Regions from separate parts of the Homo sapiens genome. Here regions 1, 3, 4, 5, 6 and 7 are each linked to region 2. The links are contacts of gene promoters, found by promoter capture Hi-C in blood cells and fetal thymus (Javierre and others, 2016). All regions are on one chromosome and are shown on one strand. The core of a region is centred on a gene start or on the middle of the fragment in contact, and the rest is flanking DNA. Distances in the headings are between cores, read along the strand shown.

Evidence for each region. Contacts are between HindIII fragments. The CHiCAGO score rates a contact against its expected background, and 5 or more counts as called.
Region 1: a contact is called between a fragment that was not itself captured here and the fragment with the promoter of CHD7 in region 2, in 11 of 17 cell types (activated CD4 T cells, fetal thymus, naive B cells and 8 more). The highest score is 8.6, in activated CD4 T cells.
Region 3: a fragment that was not itself captured here is called in contact with the fragment with the promoter of CHD7 in region 2 in 12 of 17 cell types (non-activated CD4 T cells, naive CD8 T cells, total CD4 T cells and 9 more); the score reaches 14.5 in non-activated CD4 T cells.
Region 4: a fragment that was not itself captured here is called in contact with the fragment with the promoter of CHD7 in region 2 in 17 of 17 cell types (non-activated CD4 T cells, neutrophils, activated CD4 T cells and 14 more); the score reaches 28.0 in non-activated CD4 T cells.
Region 5: a contact is called between a fragment that was not itself captured here and the fragment with the promoter of CHD7 in region 2, in 17 of 17 cell types (activated CD4 T cells, total CD4 T cells, non-activated CD4 T cells and 14 more). The highest score is 54.4, in activated CD4 T cells.
Region 6: a fragment that was not itself captured here is called in contact with the fragment with the promoter of CHD7 in region 2 in 17 of 17 cell types (naive CD8 T cells, total CD4 T cells, non-activated CD4 T cells and 14 more); the score reaches 49.8 in naive CD8 T cells.
Region 7: a contact is called between a fragment that was not itself captured here and the fragment with the promoter of CHD7 in region 2, in 15 of 17 cell types (fetal thymus, M2 macrophages, non-activated CD4 T cells and 12 more). The highest score is 12.3, in fetal thymus.

The regions. Positions count from the first base shown.
Region 1 is chr8:61,131,142-61,134,564 of GRCh38, reverse strand. It overlaps a transcript of CLVS1 not described here. Among named protein-coding and RNA genes, the nearest start is that of CLVS1, 160 kb to the left of the region's middle. The HindIII fragment of the contact is 233 bases long and covers 1,635-1,867 here.
Region 2 is chr8:60,676,738-60,680,098 of GRCh38, reverse strand. CHD7 (chromodomain helicase DNA binding protein 7) reads right to left here and starts at 1,359. Exons shown (of 38, transcript NM_017780.4): 1 at 1,017-1,359. RefSeq lists silencers at 1-251, 912-1,011, 1,372-1,811. The HindIII fragment of the contact is 9,178 bases long and covers 1-3,361 here.
Region 3 is chr8:61,067,597-61,071,245 of GRCh38, reverse strand. It overlaps a transcript of CLVS1 not described here. Among named protein-coding and RNA genes, the nearest start is that of CLVS1, 220 kb to the left of the region's middle. The HindIII fragment of the contact is 1,748 bases long and covers 1,031-2,778 here.
Region 4 is chr8:61,040,246-61,043,581 of GRCh38, reverse strand. It overlaps a transcript of CLVS1 not described here. Among named protein-coding and RNA genes, the nearest start is that of CLVS1, 250 kb to the left of the region's middle. The HindIII fragment of the contact is 6,210 bases long and covers 1-3,336 here.
Region 5 is chr8:61,092,220-61,095,957 of GRCh38, reverse strand. It overlaps a transcript of CLVS1 not described here. Among named protein-coding and RNA genes, the nearest start is that of CLVS1, 190 kb to the left of the region's middle. The HindIII fragment of the contact is 2,498 bases long and covers 358-2,855 here.
Region 6 is chr8:61,004,931-61,008,201 of GRCh38, reverse strand. It overlaps a transcript of CLVS1 not described here. Among named protein-coding and RNA genes, the nearest start is that of CLVS1, 280 kb to the left of the region's middle. The HindIII fragment of the contact is 3,404 bases long and covers 1-3,271 here.
Region 7 is chr8:61,109,086-61,112,484 of GRCh38, reverse strand. It overlaps a transcript of CLVS1 not described here. Among named protein-coding and RNA genes, the nearest start is that of CLVS1, 180 kb to the left of the region's middle. The HindIII fragment of the contact is 3,973 bases long and covers 1-3,399 here.

The DNA.
Region 1 (3,423 bases), core at 502-3,001, 450 kb before region 2:
CTAGAGCCTCCAGAAAGGCCCTGCTGACTCCCTGTTCCTATGTTCCAATGCAACTTTATAAACACTGACATTTGGATTTCATAAAATTATTACATGACATGAGATATTCTTTTGATTTGTTTTTTAACATTTAGAATTTTAAAAATTATTCTTAGCTCACTGGCCAAACAAAAACAGGTGACGGGTCAGATCTGGCCATTAGGTACAGGCCTGCTGACCCCACCCTAGAGCCACACTCAGCAAGGCCAGATGCTCAGGCTTCGAGGCGCACCTGGCAATTGGGCCCCACTGAGGCACTGGAGGGCGGGGGTCTTCCATCTCATCCTCTGTACTAAGCATGTGCTGAGCAGAGTGGAGTGATCAACACTTTTTAAACTGTCTATTTCTTTCTCTGTGTCTCTCTGTTTGCTGACTGTGTGTCCTTAAATTTGAGTAAATGAATTATGTGAATGACAGGGGGCTCCACTATACACCCAGCTGCCTGCTGGACATCTCCACCTGAACATCTCATAAACATCTCAAATGCACTGGGTCTAAAACTAACTCCATTGAGCTCATTCTCTCTTTCTTTTTCCTCCCAACCTCTCATACCCAACCACTCTCAATCAAAAACAAAAAACCTTCTCCTATATACCTTACCCTGGTTGTTAGCACCACAATTCACTCTGTCACCCAATTTGGAGCTCTAGAGCTATATTTCCCTTTTCTGCCTCATATTTCCCAGGAACCGTGAGATCCTGTTGTGTCCACCTCTTGAGTATATCACAGAAGTGCCCTTGAACTACCCCAGGGCCAGTGCCTTCATCCCAGGCTTCATCACCAAGACTCTTAAGCACAATGACCTCCTAAAACTGACCTTGCAAATCCCAATCTTTCCCCTTCCCAATCCTTCCGATGTGTTTTGGCAGTGTAGCGTCCTCTGGCAGAGATACACAGCTATGACTGCCTTGCTGTCCAACCTCAAGCCCCTCAAGGTGCCGTTTCATTCACAGGATGACTTCTCAGCTCCTCAATGTGACACAAAAGGTCCTTTGATCTGGCCCCTACCTGACTGCCAGCTGCCACTGCTCCCAGCTCACCTCCATAAACAGCCCTAAGGAGCTACTTACAACTTCCATGTGTTATTCCACACAGCCATGCCTTTGTTATGCCACGGCTTCTTCCTGGACTTCCATACCCCTTTGTCATCTTGGCTACTCTATACCCACTCTTCAAGGCCCCACTCAGCCATCATATCTCCTGGGGAGATTTCCCTGCCCTGCCTCCTCTACCCTCCTGTGCAGAATTGACGACCCCCTCGTCTGTGCCCCCTTCCTATCTTTTACAGCTGTCTATTGTGGCCATGTGTTGAACTCCATTGACATTGTTTGCTTTCCCATCTGCCTTCCCTACAGGCTAACTCCTTGAGGGTAATGTCCCCTGGTGTCCCCCACCAGGCAGAGCATCTGGCCCTTGGTTGATGCTTCCCAGATGCATTTCCAGACTTTGCAGTGGAAGCATGCTGGTTGCTATAGGACTCAGGTGCTGGAAGATAGTATTGCTCCAATTCAGAATCTCACTGCTTTTCACCATGAAAAGACTAGAGCTGCTCAGGCCTCCAGGCCAGACCCTGTGAGGCCCACCCCACAAAAGCTTCCTCCCACACCTGGCACAGAGCAGCAATGATGGTACCTCATCCCTTTTAGGGGAAACCAAATGCCCCCTCCACTAATGGCAGGCTGCGTGCATCCTAAGCCACCCCTGTAGTGTTGCTTTACTTACGGGAGTCAGGCATTGTGTCCCAGCAGCGACACTGGGGAACTTCCCCCACTTCATCACTCTGCAGCTCACTGGGCCCTGCATCCCGCTTTTTAGAACATCTGAAGCTTCATGCGGAAGCCTCGTCACTACAGAATCCCAGGAGACAGGCTGTTCTCTAGTAAAACCCAACAAATAGCCCTGAACTGTGCCACACAGAAGGGGAAATGCCATCAGATGCTGACATCTGTGATGGAAAGAAGGACAAAAGACAGGGATTCTCTTTTCTCTTTTATGGAACTGCTTCTTGGGGGCAGGTATCTGACAGACCCTGAAGCCTGCCCCATTCAGCCAGTCTCAGCATTCAGCCACAGTAGAACCTCCTGCCCAAAGCCTCAGCCCGCGTTGTCCCCAGGACTATGTCTCTCCAGCCCCGGGTGCTTTCTGGAAAAGCCTTTCCCGCCAGGCCTGGCATGCACAGCTCCTGTGCCCCCTCATCTCCAGGATTCCCCTGCCGCAACCCCAGCATCGGTTTTCACCACCAGCAGCTGATCCCGGCTCAGCCTGTGGGCTCCCTCCCAAAGAGACCTCAGGCAACAAGACTCGGTCAGTTTAGGGTTGAGCTTAAAGTTAAGGAATCACAGAGCCCTTGGTGCAAGCTCATTTTGCAGGTCCAGCCTCGTTGTTTCTCTGAGCAGGTGCTATTGGCATTTTGTGAGAGGTACCAGCCTTTAAGACTTTTATGTGTGAGTGTCCATGTACCGTGGCTCACTTGGCACCCTTGATGACCTCCCAGGAAGTGCCAGAGGCACCCCACCCAGTCGCTGTGGCAATCCAATGGCCCCTTCCCATACCCACAGGTCTCCTGAGTGTTAGGGGAAGAGCCTCCATTAATAGCCAGCTTCAGGAAATCCCCGAGCACTGAAGTTTATGCAGTTTTCAAAAACACCAGGTCATATTTACTCACCTTTTTCCTGGCTGATAAAAAGTCCGGTCCACGATGAAAATAAATTCCCAGAGCCTTCATTCTCCTCATCTTCCATTCCCTTGATTAGGCCCTTGAATTAAAAAGAAAAAAAAAAGTCTGGATTTTAAAAAACAGCACTCACTTAAATCTTATTACTTGAGTAGCGATGGTTAAAGAAAAAAAAAAAAACTGGCCCCTAGAAAAGGAAGTTCTTTGCATTAAGTAAATGCCCTTTGCTAAGCAATATTTCTTCTCTGCCAGCAACAAAGTTTTGGGGGTCATGTTTTCCTGTGTAATAACCAAGAACAACTTCTCCCAGTTCCCTTTTCTTCCCTACCTTCCAGCCAAAGGCCCGTCCTTCCTCACCTTTCAGTGAGTCACACTCCCACTACACAGACAGAAACGCTCAAACACAATGTACTCCCAGCCCAATATTGTCCCTCAGCCCCAAGCAGTTCATATAATTTGCCAATTGACTCCGCAAACTCTTCATATATGTGCATTAATTTTCACCTGCATAACCACTGCATAATTCGCACCTTCATCACCTTACATCTGACCCACTCCAGTCATCTTTTCTCTGTCTTGAATCCATTCTCCTCATTCCTAAAATGCATATGTGCTCAGGGCAGACATCTTTTGTCTCAAAATCCTTTGTGAATCCATGGTTTCAGTGATAATGTCCTACCCAGGGCATAGGGAAGAGTCTCCCTAGGGGA
Region 2 (3,361 bases), core at 110-2,609:
GAGCCGAGTTGCGTTGGAAGGTTAAAGTCGCTATTATGCAGCTGCCGCCGCCGGCGGCCCGGCCAGCTCGACAAGGTGGGGTCCCCTCCTCGCCGCGCCTCCCGGCGCTCGCCCCGGCCCCGCTCCCTTTCTTCTCCTCCTAGCGCACTTGGGAGCCGCCGGGGAGCCCCAGGAGCCCCCAACTCCGGGCTCGCAACTCCGCGCCCGCGACCGGCACTGGCTGAGCTCGGGACGCCTCCCGCGCCGCGTGTTCGCGCTGCCCCCGCCCCACGCGGCGCCCCGCGCACTTTCCCCGCCGCCGACCCACCTCGCTCGGTGGCGGTCCCCGCGCGGGCTGGCGCCGCCGCGCCGGGAGGAACGCACTTTGTTCGCGCCGGTGCGGCCGCAGCTCCCGGCGAGCGCGGCGTGGTCGGTCCGGAGCGGGGGGCGGGGGCGGGAGGCGGGGGTCGCCGCCGTCCCCGAGCCGCCGCCGCCGCTGCTCAGCCGCCCCGCGCCCGCGCGCCCATCGCCCGCTCGCACTTGAGTTGGAGCCCAACTTTTCCTCCTTCCTTTTTCTCTCGAATGGAGCCGGCAACTCGTGCTCGGCGCCGGCGGGAGGAAACGCGCTCGCGCTCCCCCGCGCGCAGACACGCTCCCTCCTGTCCCCCGTACCCCCCCCCCACGCCGGCAGCACAACAAAAAGCCATTTACATGCGAGGAAGTGACCCTCGGCCGCACCGCGCGCCCCCGCCGCCGCCGGCCCGGCGGACGCAGGCAAAAGTTGGGGCGCCGGGCGGCGCTCGGGGCGCGGGTTCGGGCCCCGCGGGCGGCGACGCCGGCGACACTACGCGGGCGGCGCTGCGCTCCTGCGCTGGCCCCGGCCCCCTCCCGCCCTCGCCCCTCGCCCCTCGCCCCGCACACGCCCAACTCCTCGCTCCCAACTCCTAGCGCGGCCCCGGCCCCGGCCCGGAGCGATTTCCTGCCGCCGCCGCCGCCGCCGCCCCTCCCGGGGGCGCCGGGCGAACTCTCGCGCTCACCGGGTCGGTCGGGCTCCTCCGCTGCCTAGTGCCGAGGGGAAAACAAAACGCAGAGCGGGCTCCGGAGTTGGCTCGGCAGCTGCGGCCAGGGGGCTGAATCCACGGGCACGGAGTTGGCCGGGGGCGAACGGGTCTCTGGTGAGTTTCAGGGTGTCCGGGTCCCCGGGCCGCCTCCTCCGCGGCGCTCCTTTGTGTAATTTCACTCGATTCAAGTTTAATCCGATAGTTCCCGAGCACGAGCGCGTCCGCACCACCACGACTCAACCCCCGCGCCGCCGCCGCCGCCGCCGCTGCCGCCGCCGCCGCCGCCGCCGCCGCGGCCCCAGCACGCCAGCGCCTGCGCGCGTCCGGCACGCCGCGCGCACCCGAAGCCGCGGGGCCGCGCGCGCCCGCCGCCAGCTCCCTCCGGGCCGCGCCGCGCCCGCGCCCGCGCCCGCGCGCCGCCACCTGACGTCAGGCGCGCCTGGCATAATTTATGCAAGAATTCGGCCGGGGTGGCGGAGGCCGAGGGAGAGGCCGAGAGAAAAGGGGCGGCGCGGAGCTGCTGGGCCGCGGGCCGCGGGCCGCAAGGGCGGGCCGGGCGCCACTTCCCGTCCCCTGGCGGGCGCCGGCGCTTCAGGCGGGTCTCCCCGCCGGCCGGTGCGCTGCTGCCGCGGAGTCTTCCTTGCCCGGCTGCACGGAGCGCTCGGCCGCTGCGCCCGGGCGCGGACTGGAGGGGCTGCTGCCACGTCTCCCGCGCGGCACCTTCCCGGAGCCGGGTGCGCCGCCCCGGGGCAGGAAGCGGGGCTCCGGGAGGGCTGCGACCCTCCTGGCTGCCGCGAAGGGTTTCCGACGCTGCGCGGCCGGCGGCGGCCGGGGGTGACTGGCAGTCTCTGCAGTAATTATCCTTCAACTTGAAATTATTTTCCCACATGAAATTATTCGGAAGGGACATGTTCCATTCCAGATGGGTTCGTGCCTGCTTCTCCACATCGCTTTTCCCACCTCTTCGTGGATAGGACACCGGATCCACTACTTAATCAAAAAGTTTAACTAGATGGCATTGATTTTGTCGAATTTGTTACCATACCAAAAAAGAGAGAGAAGGCAGAGAGCTCAATGATTATGAAACAAAGAAATAGGATGTATGCCCATTATTAAACGTGTCGGGACTAGAATGTTTTACTCATTCTTTGGCCAAAATGGCACTTGTATCTGATTGCATAGTCTTAAAAATCCGAGCCTCTTATTCCATTTCTCTTCCCGGTACAAAATGAATGTTAAACCTGAAGAAAAAAAACTTTTTTTTACTAATTTTTATTTTAGGAAATAGATCTACAAACATGGATTAAGCCTCTTCTATCTGCAAAATACGGAGCAATTATAATGTGTTTAAACCATCAATTGTAAACTTTAAGATAATTTTATTAGGTTAAAGATTGCACTTATTTTAAAATCAGGAAAGGAACTCATATCAACCAAAGATTGCCCTATGGCAGGTACAGACTGACTGGTTATTACTGGACTCCAAAATAAACTGAGAAAATAGCAAAACTATGTAAAATGTACTAATCTCACTCACTGATGGTTACACTACCTGTAGTGCTAAGCCTGTAATCACAATATTGTTATTTGGACAAAAGATTAATCAAAACTATCTCATTAAGTAACTACTGCAACTATTCAATAAGTTTGATTATCCTAGACTTAATCACTAAGACATTGATTTTCTGATTTTAGTAATAATTCTATAAATATATCACATTATATTGTGGTTTGTTAAATGCACTGCTTTTAGCTTGCTTTCATCATGTATTTGAGTTTTGTTCTAAAAGAAATAAATGTTTTAATGTTTAAGGAGCTTACAGATCATCAAAAAGAACATAGAAGACAGTACAGAAAGAATTCTGGCATTTAAAAAGTTGAAACCACTAAAATCAACTTCCATCTGTTTTAAACCCGGTATCACAAACCAAGAATCACAACTCTGAGGTTAGGCTACTGTTTCCATTAAGTTTATATTTCCCAATGAAAGTATATGAAAGGTGCTTTAGGGGTGTGTGGGGCGGGGGGGTCAAAAACAGGACACAATGTCTAGAAAAAAAATCGCTAGTACCTGACTATATTAGAACACATTTTTAAAATAATGTGCCATAAAAAATTATGTCTTATCTTTTACAGTGTGCCACAGCTCGATATCAGATGTGCATCTATTTCAAGGCAATTCACAGGAGAAAAAAAATGACATCTACATATAGTGAAATTACAATATTGCAATTAACTTGTTATCAACAAATATGACTATGAGGAGATTCCCTGTGCTCTTGTACATTTAACTCGAAAGCTAGGAAACTTCCTTTTGATAT
Region 3 (3,649 bases), core at 655-3,154, 390 kb before region 2:
TACTTTCTTACAGCAGCAACAAGAAATGAACACACTTTGGAAAAATGTCTCCATTTGTAGCAAAACATGCAGTTGCATACTTTTCTCTGGTAAAGACGCGTTGGCCTCATAAATGGACTTTCCTCCAGGGTAGGCCTTTCTCTTTTTACTGCTGCTTCCACTGCATAGAACTGGGCTCACAGAATCTGCCCAAAACGTACTTAGTTACAGGTCAAGAGCGGATGTTGGTTCTGTAGACAGGAGCAGGAAGGTTTGAAAGAGGCTTAATGAAGGTGGGCAAGAGAGAAGAGGGTGCACCTACAGAAACTGTCTACATAGATCAAAGAGGAAGGACCCCAACCAGAGAACACTGTTTGAGACTCATAGGTGCTCCTTCAAGTCTCTATTTCTTTTTTATGTTAGAGACACAGGGTCTCACTCTGTCACCCAGGATGGGGTGCAGTAGTGGTGCAATCATGGCTCACTGTAGCCTTGATCTCCTGGGCTCAAGCAACCCTCCCACCTCAGCCTCCTGAGTAACTGGGACTACAGGTGTACACCACTGTGCCTGGATAATTTTTTAATTTTGTGTAGAGATGGGGTCTCCCAATGTTCCCCAGCCTAATTTTGAATTCCTGGGCTCAAGTGATCCTCCTGCCTTGGCCTCCCAGAGTACTGGGATTACAGGCATGAGCCACCACACCCTGCCAGGCCTCTGAATTGAGGAGCATTTCCTCACGTCAGCAAGAAGAGGGGTGGAAGATGGGAAAACAATAGGAAATTCTTGAAGACTTGAGGCAATGTGCTGCTTTATTGAAAAATGTCATCAAAATGCTGGTTGCCCTTAGGAACAGTATTGGCAATAAAACAAAAAGGATAACTTTCATAAAATCACAATATAATCCTCCTCGGAATCATGACTGTAGCCCAGCAAGCAAGCCTCAATGGTGGGCCAATGTTCTAGAAGGCCCTGAGGATAAAGCTAAAATAAGAGGAGTGCATGTGATATGAGAGACGCACACAAAACACAGAAAATATCCCATAGGAAGCTTGCAGAGATAGGAAAGTAAGCCATAGGCAGAAGGCAGAACCCTGAGGACAGGGCCTCAGGGGCAGGCAGAACACGAGGCAGCCAAGGGGAGATAAAAGGAGCCATTCAAGAAAAACCTGGAGAGGCCAGGCACTGTGGCTCACGCCTGGAATCCCAGCACTTTTGGAGGCCGAGGCGGGTGGATCACAGGAAGTCAGGAGTTTGAGACCAACGTGGCCAACATGGCAAAACCCTGTCTCTACTAAAAATACAAAAATTAGCCAGGCATGGTGGTGCATGCCTGCAGCTACTTGAGAGGCTGAGGCACGAGAATCACTTGAGGAGAATCACCCGGGAGGCAGAGGCTATAGTAAGCCAAGATCGCGCCACTGCACTCCAGCATGGGAGATAGAGCGAGACTCTGTCTCAAAAAATAAATAAATAAAATAAAATAAAAAGAAAGAAAAAAAGGAAAGCCTCAAGAATGTGGTGGGGAAGTCAGAGGACTTGCAAGAGCAACACTGGCAGAAGGAACAGATAAGGATGGGGCAGATGTTGACAGTGGTAATGAGGGTATAGTGTTGGGAGCAGAACTGAGAACAGTAAGTGAACTAGGTGAGAGGAAGCAGAAACACAAGGCAAGGTGCATGAGATGCAGAGGAAGACACAAGCCCAGCCACAGGGTCAAGATGTCTCAAGCACTGATGTGTCCTATCTGCTATAAGATGCACCAAAGAAAGTGTGACTGCTGATAAATACTCAAGTATGCAAATAATTTACTTTCAAAAGGAAGGAAGGGAAAACAGAGGAAGGAAGGAAGGAAGGAAGAGAGAGAGAAAGAAGGAAAGGAAAAAGTAGAAAGATTTAGTGTCGCTCTTACTGATGTGATTTCTCAAAATGTTGGAAAGCGAGGAAGTCGGAGCTGGTGCACTGGGAATGGCCTATGACCTACATTGTAAAAAGAATTCTGGCTGGGCGCGGTGGCTCATGCCTGTAATCCCAGCACTTTGGGAGGCTGAGGCAGGTGGATCACTTGAGGTCAGGAGTTCGAGAGCAGGCTGACCAACATGGTGAAAGCCAGTCTCTACTAAAAAATTACAAAATTAGCCAAGCATGATGGTGCGCACCTATAATTCCAACTACTTGGGAGGCTGAGGCAGGAGAATCACTTGAACTTGGAAGGCGGAAGTTGCAGTGAGCCGAGATCGTGCCACTGCACTCCAGCCTGGACAACAAGAATGAAACTCCATCTAAAAAAAAAAGAATTCCTCAGTCTGCACTGTGGAAGAGGGACAAATGGAAATGCAAGACAGAGTCTCAGGCTGGAGTAGAAATCTAGAAAAGGAACATTAGTGGGAGACCCTTCCTAGGCAGAGGGGGCATCGGTAGGAAGAGAAGGAACAATTCGAGAGACCCCGGGAGGTGTGTGTGTGGGGAGCAGATGAAGGAAGGGGCACAGGACAAGAGGATGCAAACCCTGGGAGAGCCAGAAAGTGTGGCAAGGAGGCCACCTTATCTCCCCTGGCTGGAGGCCTGGCTTGCAGCAGGGACATGGGTGTAGGTAAATTGTAGAAGACTGGGAAATTACCAGAAAGCACACTGATGACCTCAGCATCCCCAATGACTCATGAGATGAGGGTATCTGCTGAGAATGAGGGGAGCAGGAATTGAGAATGGGTCTTGAGAGGAGTCGGGGGAGGCTATAAATATCTCCTAATTCATCAGCCCTAAGGGGTAGGTATGTGACTCTTCTGAACACCCTGCAAGCTTGAGGGCCACCAGTTAGAGGTTCCTACGCACCCAGCACAGTGCCAGCTGCTGTGTGTGTCTCTCCTTCTTGAGGAGATATGATTAGTGGGCCTAACTCACACAGCTCTCCCGCCCTGGAGTCTTAGCCATAGTGAAACTGTGTTAAGGCCTTGAAGAAGCTGTTGATTCTGAAGTGGTAGCTTTTTGATATGTGTATGTGTATGTATGTATATATATACATATATATATATATATATACACATACATACATATATATATATATATATACATATACACATATATATTCTTTTAATTGGAGACAGAGTCTCGCTCTGTCACCCAGGCTGGAGTGCAGTGGTGCAATCAGGGCTCAGTGCAGCCTCGATCTTCTGGGGTCAAGTAATCTTCCCGCATCAGCCTCCCTAGGAGCTAGCCACCACACCTGCTAATTTTTTTTAAAATTTTTTATAGAGACAAGGTCTCTCTCTCTCTCTCTCTCAATATCAAGTTTCGTTTTAGATTTAGGGGGTACATGTGCAGGTTTGTTCCCTGGGTATATGTGTGATGCTGAGGTTTGGGGTATGGTTGATCCCATCACCCAGGTAGTGAACATAGTACCCAATAGTTGGTTTTACAGCCCTTGACCCCCACTTTCCCTCCCCCTTCTAGTAGTCCCCAGTGTTTATTGCTGCTATCTTTATGTCTATAAGTACCCAAAGTTTAGCTTCCACTTATAAGGGAGAACATGTAGTATTTGGTTTTCTGTTCCTGTATTAATTCACTTAGGATATGGTCTCTCTATGTTGTCCAGGCTGGCCTTGAACTCCTGGCCTCAGGCAATCCTCCCACCTTGGCCTCCCAAAGCACTGGGATTAAAGGCATGAGCCTCTG
Region 4 (3,336 bases), core at 817-3,316, 360 kb before region 2:
TTTGCCAGATCAATAACTGCATCCCCCATACTTGAGGCTGTGATAATCTGCCCTAGTAAAGAGAGCCCATCTGACAAAGCAGCTGTAATTGGAGCCATTACTTGGTTGTTTGTAATAGTTCATTGTCATCTGCTATGATCCATCTGGTTTTGTCAGAACCAGACTGATGATTAAGATAAAAGCCACTACCTCTGCGTCATGTGTCAGTTAGTGTAGCACTTAGCCTCTGCCATTCTTTCCAGGATACCATGCTGCTTTTGATTAACTACCCTGATATGGGAAGGCAGTTTCAGGAGCCTCCATTTGGCTTTTCCTATGACAATAGCTTTTACTCCAAGGTCAGGAAGAAATATGAGGATTCTGCCAAGGTAAGTATGTTCTTACCTAGTATGTATTCAGGAATTTGGGAAGTGACCATCTGTTGGTCTGCGGACCTGGGAGACCCACCATCTCATGATGGCTCAGGGCCATGGCTCCATTGATTACTTGCCCCATAAAGCCCTCCTCTAACAGGGACATGATGATGGTGCTTTGGGTTGGGAGGAATCAACATCAACTCAGACCTATAACCAACAGCTTTTGAACAAGCTGGACATAACCTATTCCCAAGGGTTACCCAAGTAAACACCCATATGTGCCTTTAAAGGAGAACTGAGGAATTCCTACAGTATACATTTGCCTCAGTGTTGCAGAATCCTTCCTTACTGGGACTTGACCCTCAACTAATGGGCTCCACGTCTGAGAACTGGTTCATGTTTGGAATTTAGGCAACAGATCATGAGTTTCCACTGGGACCTTCCCTTCTATTCTCTTCTTCATTCTTGTTCCCTTCCAATGCCATATTTATAAAGTAATAACCTATAATGGCTGCTATAGCTGTAAGGATGAAAAAGATACAGTCCCTGACCTCCTGAAAATTTTTTCTGCCACCTTGTTATGATCTGAATGTTTCTATCTCCCCAGAATTCATATGATGAAATCCCCCAATGTGATAGTATTGGGAGGTGGGCAATAACAGAGTGAAAAGACACTGTCTACTAACCAAAGAGTGGGCCCTCACCAGATACCAAATCTGCCTTGTTCTTGAACTTCCCAGGCTCCAAAATTGTGAGAAACAAATTTCACATACATTGTTTATAAGCCACCTAGTTCCTGATAATTTGTTTTCACGGCCTGAATGGACTAAGAAGGTCTTCTCCTGATGACTTCCTCTTAACGTCACAGGCTGAAATACAAGAATATGAAGATAGAGAATATTGTGGATTCTCAGGGGCTAACATATTTGAAAGCAAAATTGACAACAATAATAATGGTTAATATTGAGGAATTACCATGTATTCTAAATGCTTTACCCAAATTATTTTATTTAATCCTCATGACCTTATGAGAGAGTTCTCCTCATTTTGTGGATGAGAAAACTCATTCTTAGAGAAGTGGCCAAAGTTTGAATTGCCTCCTTAAGGTTATTTATGACCAAAAAAATTAGGAAGCAATCAACAGCAAGAAAGGGATTCAAGCTGGTTGGAGCTTTGACCAGAGGAGGTCCAAGTTAACAAAACTCTTAATTTGCAGAGTACCCATCAAGAAATTTTTTTTCTCGTATAATTCAATGACAGGGGGTTCAAAACTCAAGAGATTAAGTTTCCGCAGCCCAGTATGGATGACAGAGTCAGACCTTCTCTCAAAAAACAAAAAACAGGAAGTCCTATCCAGGCAAGAGAAAGAAATACAAGGTATCCAAATAGAAAAAGAAGTCAAATCATCTCTCTTCACTAATGATATGATTCTCTACCTAGAAAACCCTAAAGACTCTGCCAAAATGCTCCTAGACCTGATAAATGACTTCAGTAAAGTGTCAGGATACAAAATCAATGCACAAAAATGGGCAGCATTTCTAATATATGTGCTGCCGAAGCGAGCACAGAGTAGCATTTATATACACTGATAACATTCAAGCAGAGAGCCAAATCAGGAATGCAATCCCACTTACAATAGCCACACACAAAAATAAAATATCCAGGAATACAGCTAACCAAGGAGGTAAAAGATCTCTACAAGAACTACAAAACACTGCTGAAAGAAATCAGCGATGACATAAACAAATGGGAAAACATTCCATGATCATGGATTGGAAGAATTAATATTATTAAAATGGTCATACTGCTCAAAACAATGTATAGATTCAACATTATTCCTATCAAGATACTAACACCATTTTTCACAGTATTAGAAAAGAAACTATTCTAATATTCATTTGGAACCAAAAAAAAAGCCTGAATAACCAAGGCAATCCTAAGCAACATAGCTGGAGGCATTACATTGTCTGACTTGAAATTATACTATAAGGCTACAATAACCAAAACAGCATGGTACTGGTACAAAAACAGACATATAGACCAATGGAACAAAACAGATAACCCAGAAATAAAGTAATACACCTACACCAAATGATCTTTAACAAAGTTGACAAAAATATGCAATAAGAAAAGGACTCCATATTCAATAAATAGTGCTGAGATAGCTGGCTAGCCATATGCAAAAGAATGAAACTGAACCCCTACCTTTCACCATATACAAAAATTAACTCAAGATGGATTAAAGATTTAAATTTAAGACCTCAAATTACAAAACCCATAGAAAAAAAAAACTAGGAAATACCATTCTGGAAGTCAGCTTTGGCAAAGAATTTATGACCAAGTCCTCAAGAGCAATTGCAACAACAAAAAATATTGACAAGTGGGACTTAATTAAACTAAACAGCTTTTGCACGGTGAAAGAAACTATCAACAGAGTAAGCAGATAACCCAGAGAATGGGAGAAAATATTTTCAAACTCTGCATGCAACAAAGGTCTAATATCCACAATCTGTGTGGAACTCAAAACAACTCAACAAGATAACCCCACTGAAAAGTAAGCAAAGGACATGAACCAACACTTCTCAAAAGAAGACATACAAGAGGCCAACAAACATATGAAAAAAATGCTCATCATCACTAATTGTCAGAGAAATGCAAATCAAAGCCACAATGAGATACCATCTCACACCAGTCAGAATGGCTATTACTAAAATGATAAAAAATAACAGAGGCTGGCAATACTGCAAAGAAAAGGAAAATGCTTATAACACTGTTTGTGCAGATGTAAATTAGTTCAGCCACTGTGGAAAGCAGTTTGGAGATTTCTCAAAGAACTAAAAACAGAACTACCATTCAACCCAGTAATCCCATTACTGGGTATATGCCCAAAGGAAAATAAATTGTTCTACACATGCATGAATATGTTCATCACAGCACTATTCACAATTGCAAAGATATGCAATCAATCCAGGTGCACATC
Region 5 (3,738 bases), core at 357-2,856, 420 kb before region 2:
TAAAAACTGTTGTTTACTATTCTTTTTTGATTCCCGGGTAGTTTTTAGGAAGAAATTGATGAAGAAGTAGCTAATGCTATGAACTGTATCTGCAGCTGAAATCAGGAAACTGGGCTGATGTTGCTTTTTCATGAACTACATAAAAAAAGATATCTGACTAACAGGATAAACGTCTTAAGGCATTAAAAATAAAAATCCCAGCGTGCCTTGAAACACCAAACATCCTGATCCCTATGCTTGGGGTCTTTGTTTTGATGTGTTGATGTGAAACCCTACCATAGACCAGAAAACAGAGTGAGAGCAAGTCTTCTGGAAAACTCTAAATACATAGTTGTGTAAGATCCTCTCGGGCAAGCTTTCTCAACCAGTAGATCAGGATCAACCAGTAGGTCGCTGGCCTACCTGGGGTTGGCCAAGAAGGGCTGCAGGCACCCTTCCCGCTCAGCTGGGTTTCCATGGGACACTGCCTACCCAGCACCTCCTAGGCGCGCCCTGTGTGGACTTTCCTGCCCCAGTCCCTCACCTCTCACCCATGGTCTCAACGTTTGGAAAAATAAGAAATGCTCCACTTCTTTGAGAGACTGCCAGCCCTGCCCCTGCTCTGGGGTCAGAAAGCCCCACTCATGGGGGATTTCCAAACCTTATTGTTTGTTTGATTTCCTGAAACCTACCTCCTGCCCCTAAAAAACCAAGAGCTATTTTGCATAGTTGGTTTTTCTTCTTTAATTGAAGAAAAATTGACTAAGTTTTGTTTTGAAAAATTCACAGCTCACCTAGAGATAACTAGGTAGGGCGAGTTCAGTTCTCAGAGTGGCTTCTTTCAAAATTTGGCAGTAAATATGTTATGAATATGAAAGGAGATAGAGACTTAATCAGTATTTAAAAACACATCCTTCCCAAATATTAACTAATGCCTAAATATATTACTAAATGCTAAATATTACAAAGTATTAACTAATGGCTAAATATACATAACAAAGAATAATCATGGGGTTTACATTGAAAACATAGCTTCTATAGTCAGGTTGCCCAAGGGTGTAGCTTGGGAAAGTTACTGTGTTAGTCTGCTAGGGCTGCCAAGACCAAGCACCACTGATCGGGTGGGTAAGAACAGGAGTTTATTTCCTCACAGTTCTGGAGGCTGGAAGTCCAAGATCAAGGTGTCAGCAGGTTTCATTTATCTGAGGCCTCTCTCCTTGGCTTGGAGATGAATGTTTTTTTCCTGTGCCCTCAGCAGAACTTCCCTTGGTTTGTGTGTCTGTGTCCTAATCTACAAGGACGCCAGTCAAGTTGGATAAGAGCTCACTCATACAACTTCATTTTTACCTTGATTACCTCCTTAAAGACTGTCTTTAAATACAGTCACACTCTAAGGTACTGGGGTTTGGGCTTCAACGTGTGAATTTGGTGAGGGAGACACAATTCAGTACATAACAGTTACCCAACCTCATGAGCCACAATTTGCCTCATGCATAAAAAGGAGAAGATAATATTAATAGCCTTGGAGTTTTTCTAAGGATAAACTGATACAATGTCACGAAGCATTCAGAACTGTATAGAGCTCAGGGATTCCTAGCTGTGGTCTTCATCATCATCAATGAGGCAGCATTCAGAGGACAGTACACATGAGCACCCCCAGCGTCAGTGCCCCGAGTCCTTGCATTAGAACCATAGTGGTGGGAGGACAGGCAAGAGAAATAAGAGAGATGAAAACATGATTTCCACACCCACCTCCCGCTTCCCAAGCACTGGTATCTCAGAGCAGGAATTGCTGGGGCCACAGGCGAGTCCAGCAGAAGAGAGTCCATTCACAGGTCTGACTTCAAAAACTTGAATCAAACTTGGGCTCAGAATAAAGGGAAGAAAAGAGAGATGCATTTTCCTCTCCTCAAACAAGCGCCTGGCTGTGCACAGTGAGCCCGAGGCTCACGGAGCTGGTGATGGGGCAGAGAATAAGCCAGGCCAAATGACCGAAAACCCCATGGCTCCCAGGCACATTGTCTGGGATGAAGTTTTAAATTCAGACCTCTGCTGGCAGAGACAAAGACTGGCCTGTCTGTCCCTGCTTCTCCAGGGAAAACAGCACAGCCATTAACCCAGTCACCATAGTAGTTGTGACACCTGATGCTGGCATTGCAGCGAGCTGCTGAAAAAGCATAGCTAAGGTAGCTGAAGAGAGCTGGACGCACACATAAATGCAGTGATTTCTTGCTGGGGGGAGGGGTCCAAGAAAAAGCAGCTAAGCATGTGTGTTCCAGAAAGAAAAGTCAACGAAGATCAGCTTAGTGCCTCACTATTTTCCCCTTCACCAAGCCTTTTCACTAGTGCTTGCTTTTAATTTATGACATGCAGCACTAAAGGGACTGTCTATAGATTTAACACTGACATTTCCTTCATGCAGTAATCCTCTGAATCCCATTTGCTGTAAATTTCTGCAGAATGACAGGAAAATGACTTTTGGGGTTTTTTTGTAAGCACATTATAATGAGCAATCTTTTTCCAGCATTTGGGAAAAACCTGAATGACCCACACAGTTTTTGGACCCCCACACTCACCTCACTTGGCCTGAGTCCAGGAAGAATTCTATAGCCATAGAGGCTGCATTACAAATTGTTGCACTAGCCATTGTTATGAAAAGTGCTTAAGGAGAATGGCTCTAATCATATGATTTTTCCCACACAAACAACTCAAGGTATATAGGGGACACAGTTTTGTGTGGCTTGGTATGTCTATTTTGATTGAGTCAGTCCTTTTTCCATTATATTGGTATACATCATAAAGATGTATATAGCTGTCATATACACAGTAAGGTATAAGCAGAAGAAAATTTATTCCCTACCACCTAATAACAAGCTTTTGAGAATACACAAGAAGAAAGAAAAGGAAAGGAGTCAGATGTTTTAGAACCAGGAGTTTACCTACTGAGCCCTTCCCATTTTGCGGTGAGGAGCTAAGGTGCTTCTTTCTTTCCTCCCCCATGTTGTCTGGGATGTGTCTCGTCCTTGCACTGCTCTATCCATGGCCATAATCCCTGCCGTGGCCCAGTTTCCAATCCCAGTGATACCACTTGGGAAGCAGAATAATGGCCTCCCAATATGTTCAAGTCCTAGTCCCTGAAAACTGTGAATATGTTATGACACATGGGAAAGGGGAATTAAGATTGCAGATGGAATTAGGGTCACTCATTGGCTGATGTCAAAATAGGAAACATCATCATGGATTATTCAGGTAATCGCAAAGGTCTTTAAATGTAGAAGAGGAGTCAGAAGAATCCGTCTCTGAGTGATGTGATATGAAGCACATTTAACCTGTGAATCCTGGCCCTGGAAATGGAGAAGGGGCCATGAGCCAAGGCAACCTCTCAAGGCTGGAAAAGGAAAGAAAACAGATTATCTCCTAAAGCTTCCAGAGAAGAAGGAAACTTTGCAAACACCTAGATTTTAGCCCAGGGAGACCCATTTTGGACTTCTGATCTCCAGAGCTATAAGACAGTAAATTTGTGTTGTTATAAGCCACTGCGTTTATGGTGACTTTACAGCAGCGGGAGATGATGAACGCTCCACCTCTTCCTATGAGGCTTCAAGCACTGAGTGTGGAAGCAGAGTCCTGCTGTTGCCAATCTGTAGAAGTCTCCCCACTGTCCTTGATTGCCTACAGGTTGTCCATCACATGTATAACCTACATGCCTGGTTTCCTGACTGCACTGTTACTGATACAGGGACATAAACACCAACTGGT
Region 6 (3,271 bases), core at 431-2,930, 330 kb before region 2:
AGTAATTGCGCGTTCAGGGATGATGGCAAAACAGTGACTGTGTTTGAGTAGATGACGATCTGCGTCCTGCGCATCCAAGTTGCCCTACTAATAAATGGCCCATTCCTCCTCTTTCTTCCTTGGAATTCTTCCCACTGACCCATCAACTAAGCACATATTCCCTCCTTCAAGATTTCCTTCGTTCCTGGGCAGGAGTCCCTGTGCTTGGAATCCTGCCCCATCCCATCCCGTCAAGCTGTCTCCTGCAATCATTCTTGCAGCTCCTGAAATCCTGCTTCCTCCACAAAGCCCTCCCCAGCTGAGAGCAAAGTGATTTTCCTCCAGCTTCCCACCTGTTCCGAGCGCATGGCCCTGCCACACTGCTCCTTCCCTCCCCCTTCCGTTGTCTGTACCCAGGGGCGGTGCGCTTAACGACGTCCTGTCCACTAAATGGCCACTGTGTCCTGCACGTCCTTTTCTGTGCCGGTTTGTGTCCACAGTGGCAGGTGCCCGTGTTTATAAATGTGCTTTGCTTCTATCAGCAATGCGGGAGTAGCGTGGTGGCTGCTTGCGTTCTCAGGAGATGACCTTACAGAGCATCACCAAGTTCAAAGTTCCATGGCTTGGTAAACCAGGCTTGCATTTAGGGTCAGGTTGGCTCTCTGGGAGACTTACTGGAATCTTTCTATGCCTGTCTCAGGTTTCCTTAGGATAAAGTGATGCTGATTTAACTGGCAAAATCTGAAAACTAAACTAACGATAGTGACTTTAGTGCAACCAAGAACTTGACTTTTTAAGTGGTTAAAAATACTACAAATAGCCAAATCTAAATATTAGAATCCACCCTCCCACAATTCTATTTTCCTCTTCCATGGTTCAGTAACACTTCAATTGAACTGAATTCCACAGCATTAGCAATCTGGTATCTGCTACTATAAAACATCTTCACTTGCTAAAATAGATGAAAAGTTTTCTTTTAAATCCTTTGTCCGATCTCATATCTAAACACGACTAAAATTAATTTCACACTATTTTCACCTTTGGGGAAAATGCTTGCTTTTACAGCCTTCTCCTAATGTCAAAACAAAAGTTTCCTTTTACTTCTCAGAATCTCAAGATCCTTTTCTGATAAAGAGAAAAACAAATGCGCTGGAATTAAGTCCTGCATTATACATTACTGAATCAAACCAGGAACTTCAGCTTCCAGGAACTGGTAGTGCTAATGTTAACAGGCAGCATGAAACAGAAGAATGCAGGAATCACCCAATTTTCTCACTCACTTATTTCACCTTTGTTTCCTAAAGTGTTGTATAGATATTTGAAAGCCATATTTTGAATCCTTTACAGTTTAAGGTGAGATACAAAGGCATTTTTTACATTATTATATATAATTACATTCTGTAGTTAGCAGCACTACAGAAGGGCAAAGGATTTTCCCTCCTCCTCTGTCAGGGAACAAGAGAAACAGAGCAGGCTCAGGCTTCAAACCTGTGGTCCTTGTGAGTGATGTTTTTCTGTTTTATATAGACACCGACAAAAATATCCCAAGGAGTCCAAACGGTGATATACAATCAATTATAGATGCTAGAAAATGGAAGCACATTGCACGTTAGCATTTCTGCCTTCTAATAAAGCAGTGGGGATGGGATGCCCTTCTTCATCTGTCTGCTCAGGATCATTTGTTTCTTCACACCCACTGTGTCGTGGGTCACCTGCCCAGGACCGCAGCAGACAGACGGTAAAGGCAGGTGAGTGGCCGCTGACTGCTGAACCCTGCTTCCCTCCTCCTCGGGCCATCTGATCTGGTCCAGCGGCATCCTTGAGAGTAAGAAGAGATGAGGAATGGTTCTCCTTTCAATGGCAAGGAGAGGCCAGGAGAAACTACAGGTCCTAGTCTCTGCAGAACCATCAAGGGCTCCCTCCCTCCCACACCAAGCAGACAATACCTTTCCCAAATCCAGAAGATCAGCAATAATTGATTTGGCTTCTGGCCATTACCCTTCTGATGCAAAAGCAACAGCACAGTTCACTAGCTCTTTCCGATTTGTCCCTTCCCTCCCTTCAAGTGACTCCTCACATCTGATTAAAATCGGTAATGTGCTAGTCCTGGAGAGAAGAGGCGCTATTTATTTCTGTCAAGTTCTGCTTGGAAGGTTTGAGGCTTCCTCCTACCAGACATTTCACTAGTAAACAGAAAAGTCACCCATATTGTCATGCTTGCCCTGACCTGCAAGCTAGTGAACAATAAATCTTAATTATAGTTAAATGCCAAAATCTGCAAAGAATGAGGCAGCACTAGTCAACTGTGAATTGGTCCGACTCCCCCGCCTCGGCTGGGGTGCAGCTGCAGGAATACATAAATTAGTTTGTGATTTGTTTGTGCCGGAACAATCAGTCGAGGCTGTTTCTTGAGAGCATTTCCAGTATCAGTGGGCACACTGGCATTCATCCTATTGCCATGTCAGATGCAGGTGGCATCTGGGAAGTTTTATTTTAAAGGACTTTCAGCATTATGCTCGGGTTAATAAGAAAGCGCTATTTTTAAATATCTCGGCAGTTTTCCAAAGTAGCGCTCAGCCTCCTGACATCTGCTCCGTCCATACTTGTTACCTTTGGGTTTATTCGGAGAAGCGTTGAATAACCTTTTTGTTAGCAATCTCCTTTTTGCACCGTGCAGGGCCACTGGAGTTGGAGGCAGGCGTCCATGTGGGGGCTTTTTTTTCTTTTCTTTTCTTTTTTCCCTGCTGCTGTAAAGCTCATGTGCTCCTTGGTATTCAAGCATTTGCTTGTCATAATGCTAAAAAAAAAAGCCACCCTGTTGTTCCCTTGAATGCTAAAAAAAAAAAGCCACCCTGTTGTTCCCTTGCCTGGGTCCCCTTGACGTATTCGCACCCATATGAGAGAATGAGAAAGGTGATTGCTGACATAACTCTGTTTAATGGCTTCAGGCTGTTCTATCAATTTTGAGACTGACAGGAGTTCGGAGATGAAACTTGGAAGGATGGAGTTTGGGCTGCTCCATGCTGGATCCCATGAATCAATCCGCAATCTACTCATGTTATTTTAGATGCAGATCCTGTTGTCACTGGGAGTCAGTCATCTGCAAGATGCCCCTATCGGGCAGTTTTCTAAATAATAAGGCTGGCATGGATTCCCAGCTTCTGGACTCAGCAGAGTGCAATGACAGACATTGGGATGAAATGGCATTTCATTAATTACCAGGTGGATGTGTATATCGGTAAGAAGGAGGGTTTTGTTTTGTTTTGTCTTGTTTTGTTTTAAACAAAAAACA
Region 7 (3,399 bases), core at 489-2,988, 430 kb before region 2:
TGGAAAGTTTCACAATTATCTGATCAACATAGCAGAGCTCTGATACAAAATCTTAGAAATGCTGAAAAGGAGAGAAAATGATAGGCCAATAGAAATGGCCTCATCTACAGTAGAAATACATGAAATTTTACATTAAATGTCAGCAAATTTAATGTAGCGTACATTAGTGAGACTAATACACCATGATCAAGTAGGCCTTATTCTATAACTTTACATATGGTCAGAGGAAAATAATATGAACCTCTCTCTCTCTCTGTCTCTGTGCGTGTGTGTGTGTGTGTGTGTGTGTGTGTGTGTGTGTGTGTAGCACGGAGAACTTTAAAATAATAACAGCGATTATGATAGGTGGTGGGAATGCAGATCATGCTTATTTCTTTTGCTTCCCTGCAACAGTCATTTGAAATAAAAGATCTTATTCACAACTTTAGTTAACTATTCATATTCCTTTGTTTAGCAAACAAAAATTAAATACTTAGGGGATATTCAACAAGAATTCTACAGTACCGATTTGAAAAAAACTTTGCTGAAGTTTACTAAAAGAAGATTATTAAAAGAAGACTGTGAATTGGAGAGATCTTCTGGAAAAATTAAATGCCAATTTTCTGCAAAACTCTATAAATTTAATACAACTTCAATTAAAATTTCAATGAAATATTTTAAAATCTATAAAAATGATGAACTTTTTGATAGAAGGACTATATAATAGCCAATTTTTTTAAAGAAGGGTAATAAAGAAAGCCTTGTTCTCCTATATTCAAAATATGTTTTAAAGCCACAGAAATTTAAACAGTATACTAATAGCAGAGAGCTAGGCAGAAAGATTTACAGAACAGAAGACCAGAAAGAGGCCCACATTTAAACAAATATGTGATAGAGATAGCATCCCAACCAATATGGAAATGATCCATAAATATAGATGGAACTACTTGCTAACTAAAATAAGTTTCAATTGAATTAAAGTTTAAATGTGAAAGATTAAATCACAAATTGATGCTGATTTCAGTTTCCTTTCCATTCCCAATTATTTTGTCCCAAATCTGAAGGATAATTTAGCATGTCAGCCTGTACCAAAAGTACAAACCAAGAAGATACCAAAGAAAATATTGACTCATCATTTTGGGAAAATGACACCCTTCTCTTCCTCCTTTTGGAGGAAGAAGACCATCTTGTTTTTGCAATCAACTGTCATTTAAAAGGGGACTCATAATCTGATAAAATAGTTTGATTTTTTATGTTTGTGAATTTTCTAATATTTTGCACAGTGAAAGCCGTATATCAATATCTGAAAACACTCTCTTAAGCGTCATTGCATTTTTTCAGGAATTCCTACTTTTTTCAGGAATCCCTACTGTATTCCACTACTGCAAACAGTATGAAGGTTCCTCAAAAAATTAAACATTTAGTTACCATACGATCCAGCAATCCAATCTCTGGGTATATACACAAAAAATGAGAAAGTGGATCTTAAAGAGATAGTTGCATACCATATTCATAGCAACATTATCCACAATAGCCAAGAAGTAGAAACAACCCAAATATCCATCACCAGATGTATAGGTATACAAAATGTGGTCTACACATGCAAGGTAATATTATTCCATCTTAAAAAGGAAGGAAATTCTGACTACAACATGGATGAACATTGAGGACATTATGGTAAGTGAAATAAGCCAGTCACGAAAAGACTAATACTGTATGATTCTAGTTATGTGAGATAATTCAAGTAGTCAAATTTCTCGAGACAGAAGGTAGAGTGGTGGTTGCCAGGGGGTAGGGGAGGCAGGAAATGGAGATCTGTAGTTTAGTGGGTACAGAGTGTCAGTTTTGCAAGGTGAAAAAGTTCTACACTAGACTTTGGTTGCACAACAGTGTGAATATACTTACTACTGATCTGTACATTCAGAAGTGGTTAAGATGGTACATTTTATGTTGCATAGTTTTTACCACAATTAAATTAAAAAACTTTTTTTTTTAAATCCCACTTTTTAAAAGATCTTCACAATGTCTTAATCATAGGAAAGGGGGAAAATCCACATTCATGGATTGCTGCCTTAGACTAGGTTTCAATCTAAGACAAAACTGGAGATGAGGATTCCATGGAATAATTGAGGAAGCCGTCTCAAAAAGGAAGAGAGGGAAGGGAGAGAGCAAGGGAAGAATTCTGGCAGGATGTGGTCTTGTCTGGAGTCTAGCTACAGCCTGGGTTGTCAGGGCAGCTCCCTAACAGCACACAGAATTTACCCCTACTTGAGAAAAGGCAGCCAATGTTTTCTGCACCTGCCAGGCAGTCAGGGTTACAGGCCGACCCCACTGGTGGTGGGAGGGGGATTAATTTCCCAAGTGAGACAGCTCCGATTCAGCCAAGGCCTCAATAGAAGGGGGCAACCGTGCACCATTAGCAGCCAACGCTCAGGGCAGCTGGGAGTCAGCGCACAGGCCCAGAGGAGGGGATGAAGTGAGGCTAATGTCTTAGTCTGTTTTCTGTTTCATAAACTACCTGGCACTGGGTAATTTATAAGAAATGAAATTTATTTCTTACAGTCCTGGAGCCTAGGAAGTCCAAGGTTGATGGGGCGCATCTTCTTGCTGGTGGGGATTGTCTGTGGAGTCCTGGGGCAGTGCAGGGCATCTCACAGTGAGGGAGCTGAGAGTGCTAACGTACTATCTCAGGCCTCTCCTCCTCTTCTTATAAAACCACCAGTTCCTCTCCCATGATAAACCATTAATCCCTTAACCCGTAATCCATTAATCCATGAATAGATTCATTCATTCATGAAGGCAGAGCCCTCATGATCCAATCGCCTCTTCAGAGCCCCACCTCTCAACACTGACCCTTTGGGGATTAAGTTTCTACCTGAGTTTTGGAGGGCACATGCAAACCATAGCAGCTACAGTTGCCATTTGAACTGAATTTGAACTTCAGATGACCAACAAATAATTTTTTAGTATAAATATGCCCAAAGCAATATTTATACTGAAGTATTTAAATTTATAAATATTTATGTTATTATATATTCTATTGTGTAATATATTTGGTTATATTTATGTATTGTATTATAGCTAAAAAGCATTTGTCCTTCATCTGAAATTCTGATTTAACCGGGTGTGCTGGATTTTTAGGTGCTAAATTTGGTGACCCTAAGTGGGACCTCAACACCATCTGCTCCAACAGTTCACAGGTGCCAGGGCCTTTGATGGAAATTACTTCATTTAGACTTTGGAACAACTGTTTAAGAGTAATATTTTCCTTACATTGCAAATGAAAAAAAAAGGAAGTGCACACAGAAGTAACTGGAAGAAGCAGAATGTGGATACGAGTATGACCCCAACCCCAGCCAGAATGCATAGCAGCCTCTACAAGCCCCTCCAAATGGAACCCCTCAAATCCCTCTCCCCGAT